5 separate regions of the Homo sapiens genome follow, and all the other regions are linked to region 5. Evidence: promoter capture Hi-C in 16 types of primary human blood cells and fetal thymus (Javierre and others, 2016). All regions are on one chromosome and are shown on one strand. Each heading gives the region's core, a stretch centred on a gene start or on the middle of the fragment in contact. The rest is flanking DNA. Distances are from core to core; before and after follow the strand shown.

Evidence for each region. Contacts are between HindIII fragments. The CHiCAGO score rates a contact against its expected background, and 5 or more counts as called.
Region 1: a contact is called between the fragment with the promoter of PCDHB7 here and the fragment with the promoter of PCDHGA7 in region 5, in 8 of 17 cell types (M1 macrophages, M0 macrophages, erythroblasts and 5 more). The highest score is 10.3, in M1 macrophages.
Region 2: a fragment that was not itself captured here is called in contact with the fragment with the promoter of PCDHGA7 in region 5 in 2 of 17 cell types (endothelial precursors and M2 macrophages); the score reaches 5.8 in endothelial precursors.
Region 3: a contact is called between a fragment that was not itself captured here and the fragment with the promoter of PCDHGA7 in region 5, in 1 of 17 cell types (endothelial precursors). The highest score is 6.1, in endothelial precursors.
Region 4: a fragment that was not itself captured here is called in contact with the fragment with the promoter of PCDHGA7 in region 5 in 1 of 17 cell types (total CD8 T cells); the score reaches 6.4 in total CD8 T cells.

Annotation. Positions count from the first base shown.
Region 1 is chr5:141,171,310-141,174,184 of GRCh38, forward strand. It overlaps PCDHB7 (protocadherin beta 7), which reads left to right and starts at 1,335. Exons shown (of 1, transcript NM_018940.4): 1 at 1,335-2,875. The coding sequence starts at 1,527. It also overlaps PCDHB@. The HindIII fragment of the contact is 10,030 bases long and covers 1-2,875 here.
Region 2 is chr5:141,532,524-141,535,232 of GRCh38, forward strand. It overlaps DIAPH1 (diaphanous related formin 1), which reads right to left. Exons shown (of 28, transcript NM_005219.5): 19 at 1,812-1,910. Among named protein-coding and RNA genes, the nearest start is that of DIAPH1-AS1, 24 kb to the right of the region's middle. The HindIII fragment of the contact is 6,140 bases long and covers 1-2,709 here.
Region 3 is chr5:141,575,114-141,577,813 of GRCh38, forward strand. It overlaps DIAPH1 (diaphanous related formin 1), which reads right to left. Exons shown (of 28, transcript NM_005219.5): 12 at 2,362-2,478; 13 at 1,643-1,758; 14 at 1,117-1,181; 15 at 1-33. Among named protein-coding and RNA genes, the nearest start is that of DIAPH1-AS1, 18 kb to the left of the region's middle. The HindIII fragment of the contact is 2,674 bases long and covers 1-2,630 here.
Region 4 is chr5:141,515,738-141,518,437 of GRCh38, forward strand. It overlaps DIAPH1 (diaphanous related formin 1), which reads right to left. Exons shown (of 28, transcript NM_005219.5): 28 at 1-1,271. The coding sequence ends at 1,114. LOC124901091 (a long non-coding RNA gene) reads left to right here and starts at 1,271. Exons shown (of 2, transcript XR_007058971.1): 1 at 1,271-1,911. RefSeq lists enhancers at 301-926, 927-1,552. The HindIII fragment of the contact is 2,622 bases long and covers 128-2,700 here.
Region 5 is chr5:141,381,378-141,384,250 of GRCh38, forward strand. PCDHGA7 (protocadherin gamma subfamily A, 7) reads left to right here and starts at 1,365. Exons shown (of 4, transcript NM_018920.4): 1 at 1,365-2,873. The coding sequence starts at 1,523. All of the region lies in intron 1 of PCDHGA1 (protocadherin gamma subfamily A, 1), which reads left to right. All of the region lies in intron 1 of PCDHGA2 (protocadherin gamma subfamily A, 2), which reads left to right. All of the region lies in intron 1 of PCDHGA3 (protocadherin gamma subfamily A, 3), which reads left to right. It also overlaps PCDHGB1, PCDHGA4, PCDHGB2, PCDHGA5, PCDHGB3 and PCDHGA6, and 1 more gene. The HindIII fragment of the contact is 6,225 bases long and covers 1-2,873 here.

The DNA of each region.
Region 1 (2,875 bases), core at 85-2,584, 210 kb before region 5:
AATAGGGATACAATTAAAGGTAAATAACGCAATGAAAACAATTCCAAGAAATTTGCAAACTAGATAAAATGATTTTCAAAATAAAATGCAAGTTACTTAAAAATACAAAACCTGAACAGATTAATAACCAAAGGTAAAATGTAAATGGTAGTCACTGATCTACTGCAAGTGAAGTCACCAAACCCAACCAGTTTAAAAGACAAGCTGGAATTAAGCATGTAGAAACATATAATAATATAATTATTAAAACTATTGTATAAAATAGATAAAAAGCTCCCTAACACATTCTATGATGCCAGTATAATAGTTTAATACCAAGGCCATAAAAGGCAAACACGCACTAGGTAAACAACATTAACTAGAAAAATCCTAAAACCATGTTGACACATCATATCTATCTGTGCACTAAAACAATAATACATTATGGTTAAATGTCATTTATATCAATAACTCAGTAATTTAGAAACTAAAGAATAAATGTATTATTTCAACAGCTATCAAAAATCACTTCAAAATATGAAAGAATAAAAAGAAAACTTTATTGATTCAAAAAAGGAATATTTACCCCAAATTGAGATCAACCATCATAGTTGAAGATGAAATGCTAGAAGCACTTCCACAAATGCAAGATTGACCAACTTGCTACTACTAATTTTAAGAGTATTCATTGGACATTGGAGATTCTAGTCACTGAAATTATAGAGGAACAATAATTTCTTATGTAATACTTAAATCAGGTGAAGGATGAAGGTTGGGTTTGGGGGAGGCATAAAGTGTTCCAAGAAATATCACAGGTAAAGAGTTAAGACCTGGAAAGTGGAATAATTGTTTAATTCACAAGAAATTGGGAAAAGGGTCAATTATTCTGCCATATTCACATTATTATTGTTAAATACTTTACAAATAAATAAAATGTCCCCAACCAATATTTGTTGACTTCAAGGAGGAGGTTTCATTTTCTCATATATATTTTTACTATCCATTTTTAAAATAGGAGATTTTCTTAGGATTTCGGTGGGGAGTCAGAGTTTAGTTTCATGCTCCTAGATTTAAGAAGACTATAAATTAATTCTTCTACGAATCCAGATTATCACAGGGGAAAACGACATCAGCTATTACTTACTAGCATTACTGTGACCATTTGAGGATAAAGATGGAATGAAACAGCAAAGATACCGGGGACAAATCATTCTTGTTGCAGAATTCCTTCAATCCGCCATCTTTTTGTTCTAGTCTTGATAACGGGAATAACATCCACAAAACGCAAGGTGGCGCTGCTGGCTAAAAAGAGAGAGAGAAAAATAATTTCACAAAGAAAGGATGTTACAGATTCCAGAGCAAAGAGGCAATCTGAAGAGAAAAGCATAGGAAAGGAAACAGTGGTAATAGGAATTGGGGTAAAATGAGGATCCTTCCCCACAAACATTGCTATTATTCAGCTCATTTCAAAGGATTCCGCTGCTGCCATTTGTGAGAGCCGCTGGAGGCTGAGTGAAAGTCATTTTGAAAGACTGATCCAAAGAAGAATGGAGGCCAGAGTGGAGCGTGCTGTGCAGAAAAGGCAAGTCTTATTTCTTTGTGTATTTCTGGGAATGTCTTGGGCTGGCGCCGAACCGCTTCGGTATTTTGTGGCGGAGGAAACCGAGAGAGGCACCTTTCTTACCAACTTGGCAAAAGACCTAGGGTTAGGGGTAGGGGAACTGAGAGCCCGGGGAACTAGAATTGTTTCAGACCAGAACATGCAAATTTTACTGCTCAGTTCGCTTACTGGTGATCTACTTCTAAATGAGAAATTGGACCGAGAGGAACTGTGTGGCCCCAGAGAGCCCTGTGTGCTGCCTTTCCAGTTGTTATTGGAAAAACCTTTTCAGATTTTCCGTGCTGAACTATGGGTCAGAGACATCAATGATCACGCTCCAGTATTTCTAGACAGAGAGATTTCCTTGAAAATATTAGAAAGTACCACTCCAGGGGCGGCATTTCTCCTAGAGAGTGCACAGGATTCAGATGTTGGAACCAACAGCCTGAGTAACTACACCATCAGCCCCAATGCCTATTTCCATATTAATGTCCATGATAGCGGGGAGGGGAATATCTATCCCGAATTGGTGCTGAATCAAGTGCTGGATCGGGAAGAGATACCAGAGTTCAGTTTAACCCTCACCGCTTTAGACGGCGGCTCTCCTCCAAGATCAGGGACCGCCCTCGTGCGCATTCTGGTTCTAGACGTAAATGACAACGCCCCTGATTTTGTGCGGTCGCTCTACAAGGTGCAGGTGCCCGAAAATAGCCCCGTTGGTTCCATGGTTGTCTCCGTGTCAGCCAGAGATTTAGATACCGGAAGTAATGGGGAAATAGCCTATGCATTTTCTTACGCCACTGAAAGAATTCTCAAAACGTTTCAAATCAATCCAACATCTGGCAGTCTTCATCTTAAAGCGCAATTGGACTATGAGGCAATTCAAACTTACACATTAACTATTCAGGCCAAAGACGGCGGCGGGCTTTCTGGAAAATGCACTGTAGTGGTTGATGTAACAGATATAAACGATAATCGACCCGAGCTGCTCCTGTCTTCACTTACTAGCCCAATTGCAGAAAACTCACCCGAGACAGTCGTGGCTGTTTTTAGGATTAGAGACAGAGATTCCGGGAACAATGGAAAGACAGTGTGCTCCATCCAGGACGATGTCCCCTTCATCCTGAAGCCATCTGTCGAAAACTTCTATACTCTGGTAACAGAGAAACCTTTGGATCGAGAGAGGAACACTGAGTACAACATCACCATCACCGTCACCGACTTGGGGACACCCAGGCTGAAAACCGAGCACAACATAACCGTGCTGGTCTCCGACGTCAATGACAACGCTCCCGC
Region 2 (2,709 bases), core at 131-2,630, 150 kb after region 5:
TTCTGGGATTTGCCCCTCCAACACTGCCCCCACTTGATTTAGATCCCTCCCTTCCTAGTACTCTCATAAACATTCTAGCATACCTCCATCATAGCATTTATTAATCTGCACTGTTATCATCTGCCTTTCTGTCTTTACCAAATACGTGGCTCATGCAGACAGGGACTATTGTCTTATTCAGCTTTGTATCATTAGCACATGAGAGACATTTAATCACTAAATTCCATCTTCCAGACCATCCTATCCTATACTACTCTCAATTTTCTTTTCTTAAATTCTGTTTTCCATATCAATATCATAACACTAGAAATCATAATGTACTACACCATTGTCTTTCTTGTATCATTTTTTAAACCAATTACTCATGTCTTATGTTCCTAGAGATACTCTTGGGAAGAGGAACTGACTCACAATACTTTAATCTCCATAAGACTTCACCACAGACACTATGTAGTAATAGTTATTGACAATAATTTAAGATTATATAATCAAGAATAATGTGACAGTTTACTGGTCTCATTGTATCACTGACTTTACTTATGGGTATGTGTACTTATTGGCTGTGTGATCTGGGCACTTCGCATCATTTAAACTTTGGTTTTCTCATTTGGATAAACAGGGACAATAACTGCATCACAAGACTATGAGTGGGTTTTACGGAAAATACCCTTTCATCTCTGGAACACATGCCTAATAGAGCCTATAACATAGCAGACCCTGAAATATTTGTCAAATAAATATTTAAGTCTATATTTCTTGGTATGAAGTAGGTAGATGAGTAATTAAAAAGAACAAAAATTTAACATTTGTCCTGATCATCAAATAAGTACTACCTATATCAACTTTGCAGAGGAATTTCTCATTTGAAATTTTGCTACCAAAGAGTTACGAGTATACGTGGAAACTTCAGAACAGAACCCTTCTCTGGAGTTACTGATCCTACTCTGAGAAGTACAAAATTTACCTTAGTTATTTTAAATCACAAAGTAATTTTAAATTTAATTGAAGCCAAGCTAGTACCTTTACTTATCAGAAAGTGAAAGCTGGGCATGGTAGCTTACATCTGTAATCCCAACATATTGTGAGGCTGAGGTGGGCAGATCACTTGAGGCCAGGAGCTTAAGACCAGCCTGGGCAACATAGCGAGACCCCTTCTCTATTTATTTAATAAAAAAGCAAAAGTGGGAGCAAGGAAATGTCCAGTGGCTAGACCATCTGTGGTAGACTTTCTGTGAACGCAATGGACATAGTAAGAACTTTTAAATAAGAAAGTCAGAGACACAGCTGGGCAGATCACCTGAGCCCAGGAGTTTGAGACCAGCCTGAGCAACATGGCAAAACCCCATCTCTACAAAAAATTAGCTGAGCATGGTGGTGCACACCTGTAGTCTCAGCTACTTGGGAGGCTGGGGTGGAAGAATCAACTGAGCCCAGGAAGCTGAGGTGGCAGTGAGCTGTGATCGCATTATTACACCCCAGCATGGGCAACAGAGTGGTGAGACTGTGTCTCAAAAAAAAAAAAAAAAAAAAAAAAGGCTCAAATCCCAGACCTCCTTCTTACTAGCTTTATGTCTAAGCAAATTCCTAAAAGTCTTAGCTTGTTTCCTTGACATAAAACTGGATACTTAAAAATCTTGCAGTGCTATTGAAGAAATTAAACATGATACTGAAAATTCACTGTGCAATGGTTGGTATATAGCAGGAATTGAACAATTAAAGTTCCATATCAAGGGACCATAGATTCAAGAGAATTAAAAATTCTTAAAAGAATTCCTTCACATTTTGAATAGTTGGGACCAAGAGATACTCACAGAGATTCTGGGCTGTCTTTGAATCCAACACCTTTAACTCTTTTACTTTTTTCTTTTGCACAGATTTCTTTTCTTCTCCACCTTCTTGATCCTTCTTGGCTAGCAGGGAAAAGATTAGAAAAGCATGATTAAAAGTAAGCCACCTCTGTGCTTTACCAAGCAACTACTGTCCAGCGTGAAATGGCCCCTCACTTCCTCTCTATTATAATGGTCTATTGTATTCCTTCAAAACTAACCTCCTCTTCAACCAACCACCCTTTTATTACTGAACCTCCCCCAACTCTAATAAATATCTCATTTTCATTTCTTCAATATTTATCAGTAATGCTTTCCTACCTACATCCTATCTACTTGCAGGGATCAGCAAGCTGCCTGTAAAGGACCAGATAGTAACTATTTTAGGCTTTGCAGGCCATATGGTCTCAATTATTCAACTCTGCCACTGTAGCATGAAAGCAGGCACAGACAATACATAAATGAATGGGCATGGTTGTGTTCCATTAAAACTTGATTCACAAGAACAGTTGGTTAGTAGTAGTTCAGCAGTCCCCTTCCACCATGTTATCCTTCCTTTTGTGCCTATTTAAAAATCCAACTTATCTTTCAAGCTCCATCTTTTTTGTTTGTTTTTTGAGACAGCATCTCACTGTGTCACCCAGGTTGGACTGCAGTGGCGCAATCATGGCTCACTTGCAGCCTTGACCTCTTGGGCTCAGATAATTCTCCCACTTCAGGGTCCCAAGGAGCTGGGACTACAGGTGCAGGCCACCACGCCCGGCTAATTTTTTTATTTTTTGTGGAGATGAGGTTTCACCATATTGCCCAGGCTGGCCTCAAACTCCTGGGATCAAGCAATCTGCCTGCCTCAGCCTCCCAAACTGCTAGGAGTACAGGCATG
Region 3 (2,700 bases), core at 44-2,543, 190 kb after region 5:
TAGCTCATGTCGGGCTGTTAACTCTGAGTCCAACTAGAGAAAAAACGAATCAGGCTCCCAGCAAGCTCTCCATCTCAGTAAGAAGCACAAGTATTATTACCCATAATTCTCCCTACCTCCTCTTTTGCCTGGGGGTGCTGGAATCCCCCCACTGCCTCCTGTTCTGGGCCAGTACTTGATTTACAGAGCTCATAAATCCAGGCCATGCTCGGGGGAAAAAAGCACCATGATTCTGACCTTAAAATCAAGGTTTGGCTGGGCGGAGTGGCTCACACCTGTAATCCCAGCACTTCGGGAGGCCGAGGCAGGTGGATCACCTGAGGTCAGAAGTTCGAGACCAACCTGTCCAACATGGTGAACCCTAGCCTCTACCAAAAATACAAAAATTAGCCGGGCATGGTGGTGGGCACCTGTAATCCCAGCTACTTGGGAGGCTGAGGCAGGAGAACTGCTTGAACCCAGGAGACAGAGGTTGCAGTGAGCCGAGATCGCGCCACTGCACTCCAGCCTGGATGACAGAGTGAGACTCCGTCTCAAAAAAAAAACAAATAAAAATAAAAATGAAAATAAAACAAGGTTAAAGGAGAGGGGAATCAGTTCATTTCCACAGATTCCCTATTTTTATAGTTAAAAAAAATAAGATTTTAAAGGTATTTAACGAGGACGACCATGGTAGTACAATCCCAATATTCTCTAGGATCAAAAACCTATTAACCACAATAAACGTTCTTAAAAACTGAAGAGAAAAAGAGAACTCAGACATCCTCTAGTTCTATTGCTCTAAGGACCCCAGTTCCTATTGTTCTAGGGGTAAGAGGCCTAAAATGCCAAGCAAACCTGAGAGTGCCATTACTATTACATGAGTATCATCTGTCTTTCTTTTCCTGCCCAGTAGCCCAAGAACTGAAAGTCCACCACTAGAGCTCCCTATGAAGACATCCATATCACTTTCTCCAATGACTACCCTATACTGGAAAGGTTTCCCCTGGGAACTACACTATTGGGTGCTAAACGCTTCCAAAATACCACAGAGGAAAACTGTCTCATAGATCAGGAAAATAATAATTCTCAAAGAAAGATATACTCAAACACATGTCTTTGGTCTCTCATATGCACCTTCTTTTCCAGCTCTGCAGCTTTGGCTTCAGATTTCTCCACCTTTGTCTTATCAATCATTTGATCTGAAAAGAAGAAGAGTCAGTAAGTAAAGCTCCTAATTCTCTTGTTCTATTTCTTTCACACTACACCCTTCCAAAGAACAGTCTTTTTGATCATTTTTATTATCTTTCTTAATGTTCTGCACTAGACAAAGAAATGGAACTTTCAGTTAAGTTCAACATGTAATCTGAGTGTGCGGTAAGGCCACCATGCTGGGTGGCAAGAAGAATGCCTATGAGTGATATTTTTGACTCTCTGAGACCACCAGGAGTTCCTGCAAAAGGTGCTGGTGTGTGTTTTATCTAAAAATAAACTAAAGACCTATAGATTCCTAGCAAAGATGCTGGTTATGACCTAAGAAAGGACAAAAATAGAACTATCTGGGGACTGGAAAGGTATCTTCTCTGACATTTTCACTGAAACAAGATGCAAAATGAAAGGAAGAAGCAATACTTGGAGGAGCCAGATAGAAGAGTATGCTTACCAATTAATCCCTCAATCTCAATCTGGAGGTGCCGGCACTTGAAGTCAGGATCAGCCCCGTTCTTGTGCAGAACTATCTGGGAAATACATTCTTCAATCAACTTATAGTACTGAGGTCTACAAGAGAATAAAAACAGGGTCATCAAAGGAAAATCAAAATATAATTTTCAGAAGTATTCAGGACCAAGAAAACGTAATTGCTCTGACAACTGAGAGACCTGGAAAAACTTTTGTAAAGTTAACACAAGTATTGCTGCCATGCTAAGAAAACTCCTTTTTCCACATCAGCTACCCTACCCTATCTACTTCAAATAATCAAAACTTCTTGCCATCCGCTCCTAGTGCCAATACTTTCCCATCTAAAAATTTGCGTTTGATCCTTCCTGTGATGGATAGTGCTATTGCTAAATCTATACTTCCAGGAAACTAGAAAGAATTTTAAATTGCCACTTCTGTTTGCTAACATCTTCATCCTATTTACCTACTCCCCTCCAAAAACAGAACGGCATTTCACCTTATACACTCTGACCTCTGCCATAGGGATGCCTTTGAGTTGGATTAAAGAAATAAGACAACTTCCTTTATATCGGTGACTAATGAACCCTAATCTTGGGTCTTTGTCTTTACATTTTCCTTTTACAGAACAATCTTTGAATTTAAGGAATTCACTCTCTCCACTTAGGCTCAAATTCAAAACTTCTCATAAGCACAGCATCTTACCTGGCCTCATAGTCATTTCGGACCAAGAGTAAGTGCTGCAGGATGGAAAGGAAGTGTGGCTCTGCCTTTGAATCCTTCACTGTGTTTAAGAGAATCTGAAAGACTTCATTAAAGTCAGTGGAAAAGGGAAATAGGCTAAGGAAAGCAAATATGCAGAAATTATGTTTGACAGGTGGCTTATTTAACTCTTGAAAAAGCTAGGGAAAAGTAGCAAGACACCACTTCCATTCTACTGGCTGTTCTTCCTGTAAACATCACCAGAAACTTTAAGCTTTCTAAAACGTCCTTTAAGGGACCAGTGAATTGGGTGGTACTATACACACAGAGGATTCCTAGTAA
Region 4 (2,700 bases), core at 189-2,688, 130 kb after region 5:
GTTCCTCCTGTGTCGGATTCCCTGGGAGAGAGGATCTGCCTTGGACTCAAGGGTCCAGAAGGTCCAGGGGCACATTCAGGATTGGGCCTGTGAGAAGAAATCCCAGAACTCTGTAACCTGCCACCAAAGCTTCTTACATTATGGAGGGGAAAGGGGGAAGGAACAGTTTTCTTTAAAAAAATTTTTTTTTTCATACAAAAATAGATCCATTTGCAAAACAATTTCTCAGCCAGGAGGCTCCACCTCCCATTTCCTTGTAGACAGAGGGTGAGGTGTTGGGATGGTCACAGTACAACCCATAGTCCAGATGAGATGCACCAAAGCTCAGGGAAGGCATGAGGAGGGAAGGTGGCTCAGTAGCCTGGGGTTGGTGCAGAGCGTCCAGAGAGGCAAGGGCATAAAGCGTGGCAGAAGCTGGGGGCAGGTCCCACACTGTCGCTATGCCCTGCCTGCCTGCCCACAGGCTCTGGCCTGGGCCACAGCACAGCAGGGAAACTGGTCCAGATCCTTTGCTTTGGAGGCCTTTCCCAGGAAGGTGGGGTAAAGGTGGGATTTGCTCCCTGCTTCCTTAGGAGCAGCTCCCAGTGCCACACCACTAATAATAAATAACCACAGCCAGGAGAGGGAAGAGCAGAGACAACAGCAATGAAAGGAGGGATCTAGCCCAAAGGTTTACAAGCCCCATGCTATTCTCAGGGCCAGAGAAACCACAAAAGAAAAGCACAAATCCAGCAAGACTGACCTAGGGGGGAAAGCCCATTAGAAAGTCAGGGCTGAGAAAAAGCAGGCTGGGCCTTGTCTGAGATGAGGCCCTCTGAGTAACAGAGAGGAGACAGGGTTAAGGCAGCAAACATGGACCCTGCTTTGGTAATACAACAGCCAGGGCTGGCTAAGTCGGGCTCAGGCCTCCCCTGCACTGCCCTTTCCTTCTGGCCTCCAGGCAGCTGAAGCTGTATGTGATGTTGAGAGAGCAGCAGGCCAGAGAGAAAGACAGGGTCAGGGTGGTGGGAGTGGCCACCCCAGAGGAATATCCCCTTGAGCCTTTAGGCACATGCTGCAGGGCAGGACAGTCTGCGGCTCCGCTGAGGAGCTGCCGCGGTCACAGGACCCACATTAGCTTGCACGGCCAACCAACTCCTTGGCTTCCTCAAGGATTGTGGGGAATGTCTCACTGTTCTTGGACACCTTGGCAGGAACAGCAGCCATGGCATCATCCTTGGTCAGCTCCGAAGCTAGCAGAGATGTGACTGCACACCCGGCCTTCCTGTTGGCTGCAAGAGAAGACGAGAGATTCTGTCTATGGAAGGCCTCATTTCTAATTTCTTTCAAACTCTACAGCAGATAATCAGCGTAAGCCATGCAGACATGACTACCTTGGCCACTTCACAGAGGCCCTTACTTTGAAGAAAGGGGCAGAGATCCAGCATGTGGAATATATTGTTGGGTGGCAAAGAATGTAAGAGAGTGTGGTGCAACAGGAAAGCAAGCCTTGCCCCCTTGCTTCCCTGTGTGAAAACAGCACAAAAGTTTGAACACAGACAGACAGAACTGGGCTGAAGTGTTAGCTATGTGACTTAAGGAGAGATGAAGTATTCAAAGTCTATTTTCTCGTAATAGGGATGTTGGAATTAAATAGACTAAAGTTTAGTACATAGTATTATTTTTGTTTTCTTGACAGGTCCCAGGAAACTCCTAGGCCAAAACACTTCTCAGTCAGCCCTGGGAGGGTTGTCCCTAGCAGAAGGCAACCTTCCGTAAGTGGCTGGAGAGACTCCCGCAAAGAGGAACAGCAGCCACGCACTGACACCGCACTCCCACGTGTTCCTCCAACAACAGATGCCCACATGCCTTAGCTCTTTCCCACCCCTTCAAAGGTAGCAGCCGTAATACAAATGCCAAGGGCCCTACAAGGTGTGTAGAGTATGTGGGGGTGGCATGGCGGGGGGGAGGTAGTAATAAAAACTATGCCAGGGAAGCAGAACTGGGATAAAGATGGACAGGAGAGGACCCCTACCAAGAAATCTCAGCCCAGGTGGCTAAGAGATGGTCAAGTTCCGGCTGTCATACCAGATTAGAAAAGAAGAACCAAATCAATCCACGAGTTTCTGTTCTAACTGCTGGGTTTCATCCCCAAGACTCTCATATTCATTTATGGTATCTAGGCTTATGGCCCCAGTATCTGCAGCAGGAAGGCCACTCCTTGAGACCATGCCCATCTCATGATGTTTCCTCCTCCCATGCCCCAGAACAGCACAGAGCAACTGTGTATACACAAACAGCTGTCTGGGACGAAAGAAGCCTGACACGAAAGGCCATATGTTATGGGTCAGCTTCTGCGAAATGTCCAGCACAGGCAAACCCAGAGATAGAAAATAGACTGGTGGTTGCCAGAGGCAAGGGGAGGGGAGAATCAGTAGTGACTGCTAATGGGGATTATGAAGTTTTTCTTCTGGGGATGATGAAACGTCCTGGAATTAGATAGTAATGGTTATACAATCTTGTGGATATTCTAAAACCCCTGAATTATACATTTTTAAAAGGTGAATTTTAGGTATGTAAATGATAGCTCAATTGGAAAAAAAAAAAAAAAAAAAAGACTTCCTGGAGATCTGGGAAAGCTGGAGTGGAGAAAGCAGTACCGGAATGTTTTAGAAGCAGGACCAGATGAAAGAGCCGAGCACTCCTAAATAAAGACCAAGA
Region 5 (2,873 bases), core at 115-2,614:
AATAATTTAGTTTTACTCTATCAACATCAGTGGAGAGACGAGTACCTCTAAGGATCCTGTCAGGACAGTCCTGCATTTTGCTCAAATGCTGTCTAGAGATCCCTGTTTTCTCAATTACACTAGAATAGAGTAGGATGAAGATTTGAATTGCATACTAGGATGAAGACTTGAATTGAATTGCATAATGAAAAGAATCAGCCAATCCATTATCCAGTTTCTTATGAATTCACAGCCCAGTAGGATCTCTGCAGATTTCTGCCTTCTGTAGAAAATGGGTTGCTTCTATAGCTGATTGCTGCAGCCAAGACAAACAACGATTTCTTTCTTTTTTTCTCACAAGACTGGGAGTGAGAATATTTGGATTCCGACATTGTTCTACTACTATATAATCAATAATCAGGAACAAGGCAAGGCAATTCCCTCTTTCTTTCTTTCTTTCTTTCTTCTTCTTTTTTTTTTTTTTTTTTTTTTGGCAGAGTTTTGCTCTTGTTGTCCAGGCTGGAGTGCAATGGTGTGATCTCGGCTCACCACAACCTCCACCTCCCGGGTTCAAGCGATTTTCCTGCCTCAGCCTCCTGAGTAGCTGGGATTACAGGCGCGCGCCACCACGCCCGGATAATTTTGTATTTTTAGTAGAGACGGGGTTTCTCCATGTTGGTCAGGCTGGTCTCAAGCTCCCGACCTCAGGTGATCCGCCCGCCTCGGCCTCACAAAGTGTGGGATTACAGGCGTGAGCAACAGCACCTGGCCCCCCCTCTCATTTTTTAAACGGTTAAAATGAAGGTGTTAGACCGTCTCTAAGGTTCTATACAATCAAAAATTTATTAAAATAGGTCTATATATTTTACAACAATTTTGACTTTCTGAATCTTGCATCATGGTGTCTAGAACATATGTGTTCAATTAATACTGAATTAATTAAAATTTATATACACTGATGTAAATATTTTCTAAGTAAAATCTTTCATATGTATTTAAATAAAATTTACCTTTTTGCCTTCAATAACTGATTTTCCCATGTGCAATAACGTGTGAGTCAGTGCCCAAAAGAGTCACTTGAAAGTTGCAAGGCAAAGCAGTTTTTTAAAAATTATCTAAGATTATCAAACACCGGTCCATGAACACTGTTGCATTAATTCAGTGTCTTAAAATGGATTTTTAATTATCAGGGATATCTAGAGCAAAGAAATCTAACAGGGAAATTTTGAAAGATGAAACAATTTTCTATGAAATCAGTGTATTGTGTGCATCAATGTGGTGCAGTAACTTAGTAAGGACTCACAGCGCCGCTGTTCACCAACCAGGGAAAAATGGTGCGAGAGATCCCACAGAAACCACCGAGTTTTACAGCACAGAGAAACGACAGATTGCGATAAGCCCTCTTCCAGGCTGCACTAAACTCAAGCCTCTATCCTGCTGGATTCTGAGCTCCCCTTCCTAAGACAGAGGGGTCCACCCGGATACACCCGCATTCTGAAGCACTTCCCGAGATCGGCGCCTAAGCAAGAGAAGCAGGACGACTATGGCGGCTCAGCCGAGGGGCGGGGACTACAGAGGATTCTTCCTGCTCTCCATCCTCCTGGGGACCCCCTGGGAAGCCTGGGCAGGACGTATTCTCTACTCCGTGTCGGAGGAGACGGACAAAGGGTCCTTTGTGGGAGACATCGCCAAGGACCTGGGGCTGGAGCCCCGGGAGCTGGCGGAGCGCGGAGTCCGCATCATCTCCAGAGGTAGGACGCAGCTTTTCGCCCTGAACCAGCGCAGCGGCAGCTTGGTCACTGCGGGCAGGATAGACCGGGAAGAGATCTGCGCTCAGAGTGCGCGGTGTCTGGTAAACTTTAACATCCTGATGGAAGATAAAATGAATCTTTACCCTATAGACGTGGAAATAATAGATATTAATGACAACGTTCCAAGATTCTTGACGGAAGAAATAAATGTAAAAATAATGGAGAATACAGCTCCTGGGGTTCGGTTTCCGTTAAGCGAGGCTGGGGATCCAGATGTGGGCACGAACTCCCTCCAGAGTTACCAGCTCAGCCCCAATCGCCACTTCTCCCTGGCTGTGCAAAGTGGAGACGATGAAACTAAGTACCCGGAACTGGTGCTGGAGCGGGTGCTGGACCGGGAGGAAGAGCGGGTTCACCACCTGGTCCTCACAGCCTCTGATGGCGGCGACCCGCCCCGATCCAGCACCGCCCACATCCAGGTGACAGTGGTGGATGTGAATGACCACACGCCTGTCTTCTCTCTGCCTCAGTACCAAGTAACTGTCCCCGAGAATGTGCCAGTGGGTACAAGACTGCTCACGGTACATGCTATCGACCTGGACGAGGGAGTCAATGGGGAAGTGACATATTCTTTTCGGAAAATAACTCCTAAACTTCCAAAGATGTTTCATCTGAACTCGCTTACAGGAGAAATATCAACTTTAGAAGGATTAGATTATGAAGAAACTGCCTTCTATGAAATGGAGGTTCAGGCTCAAGATGGTCCTGGTAGTCTGACAAAGGCAAAAGTACTGATCACAGTTTTAGATGTAAATGATAATGCTCCAGAAGTGACTATGACGTCTTTAAGTAGCTCAATCCCTGAAGACACACCTCTTGGGACAGTCATTGCTCTTTTCTACCTACAAGACAGAGATTCTGGAAAGAATGGTGAGGTGACCTGCACCATTCCAGAAAACCTACCTTTTAAATTAGAAAAATCAATAGATAATTATTATAGATTGGTCACAACCAAAAACTTGGACCGGGAAACACTCTCTTTGTATAACATCACACTGAAAGCCACAGATGGTGGAACTCCTCCCTTGTCCAGGGAAACTCACATATTCATGCAGGTGGCAGACACCAACGATAACCCACCCA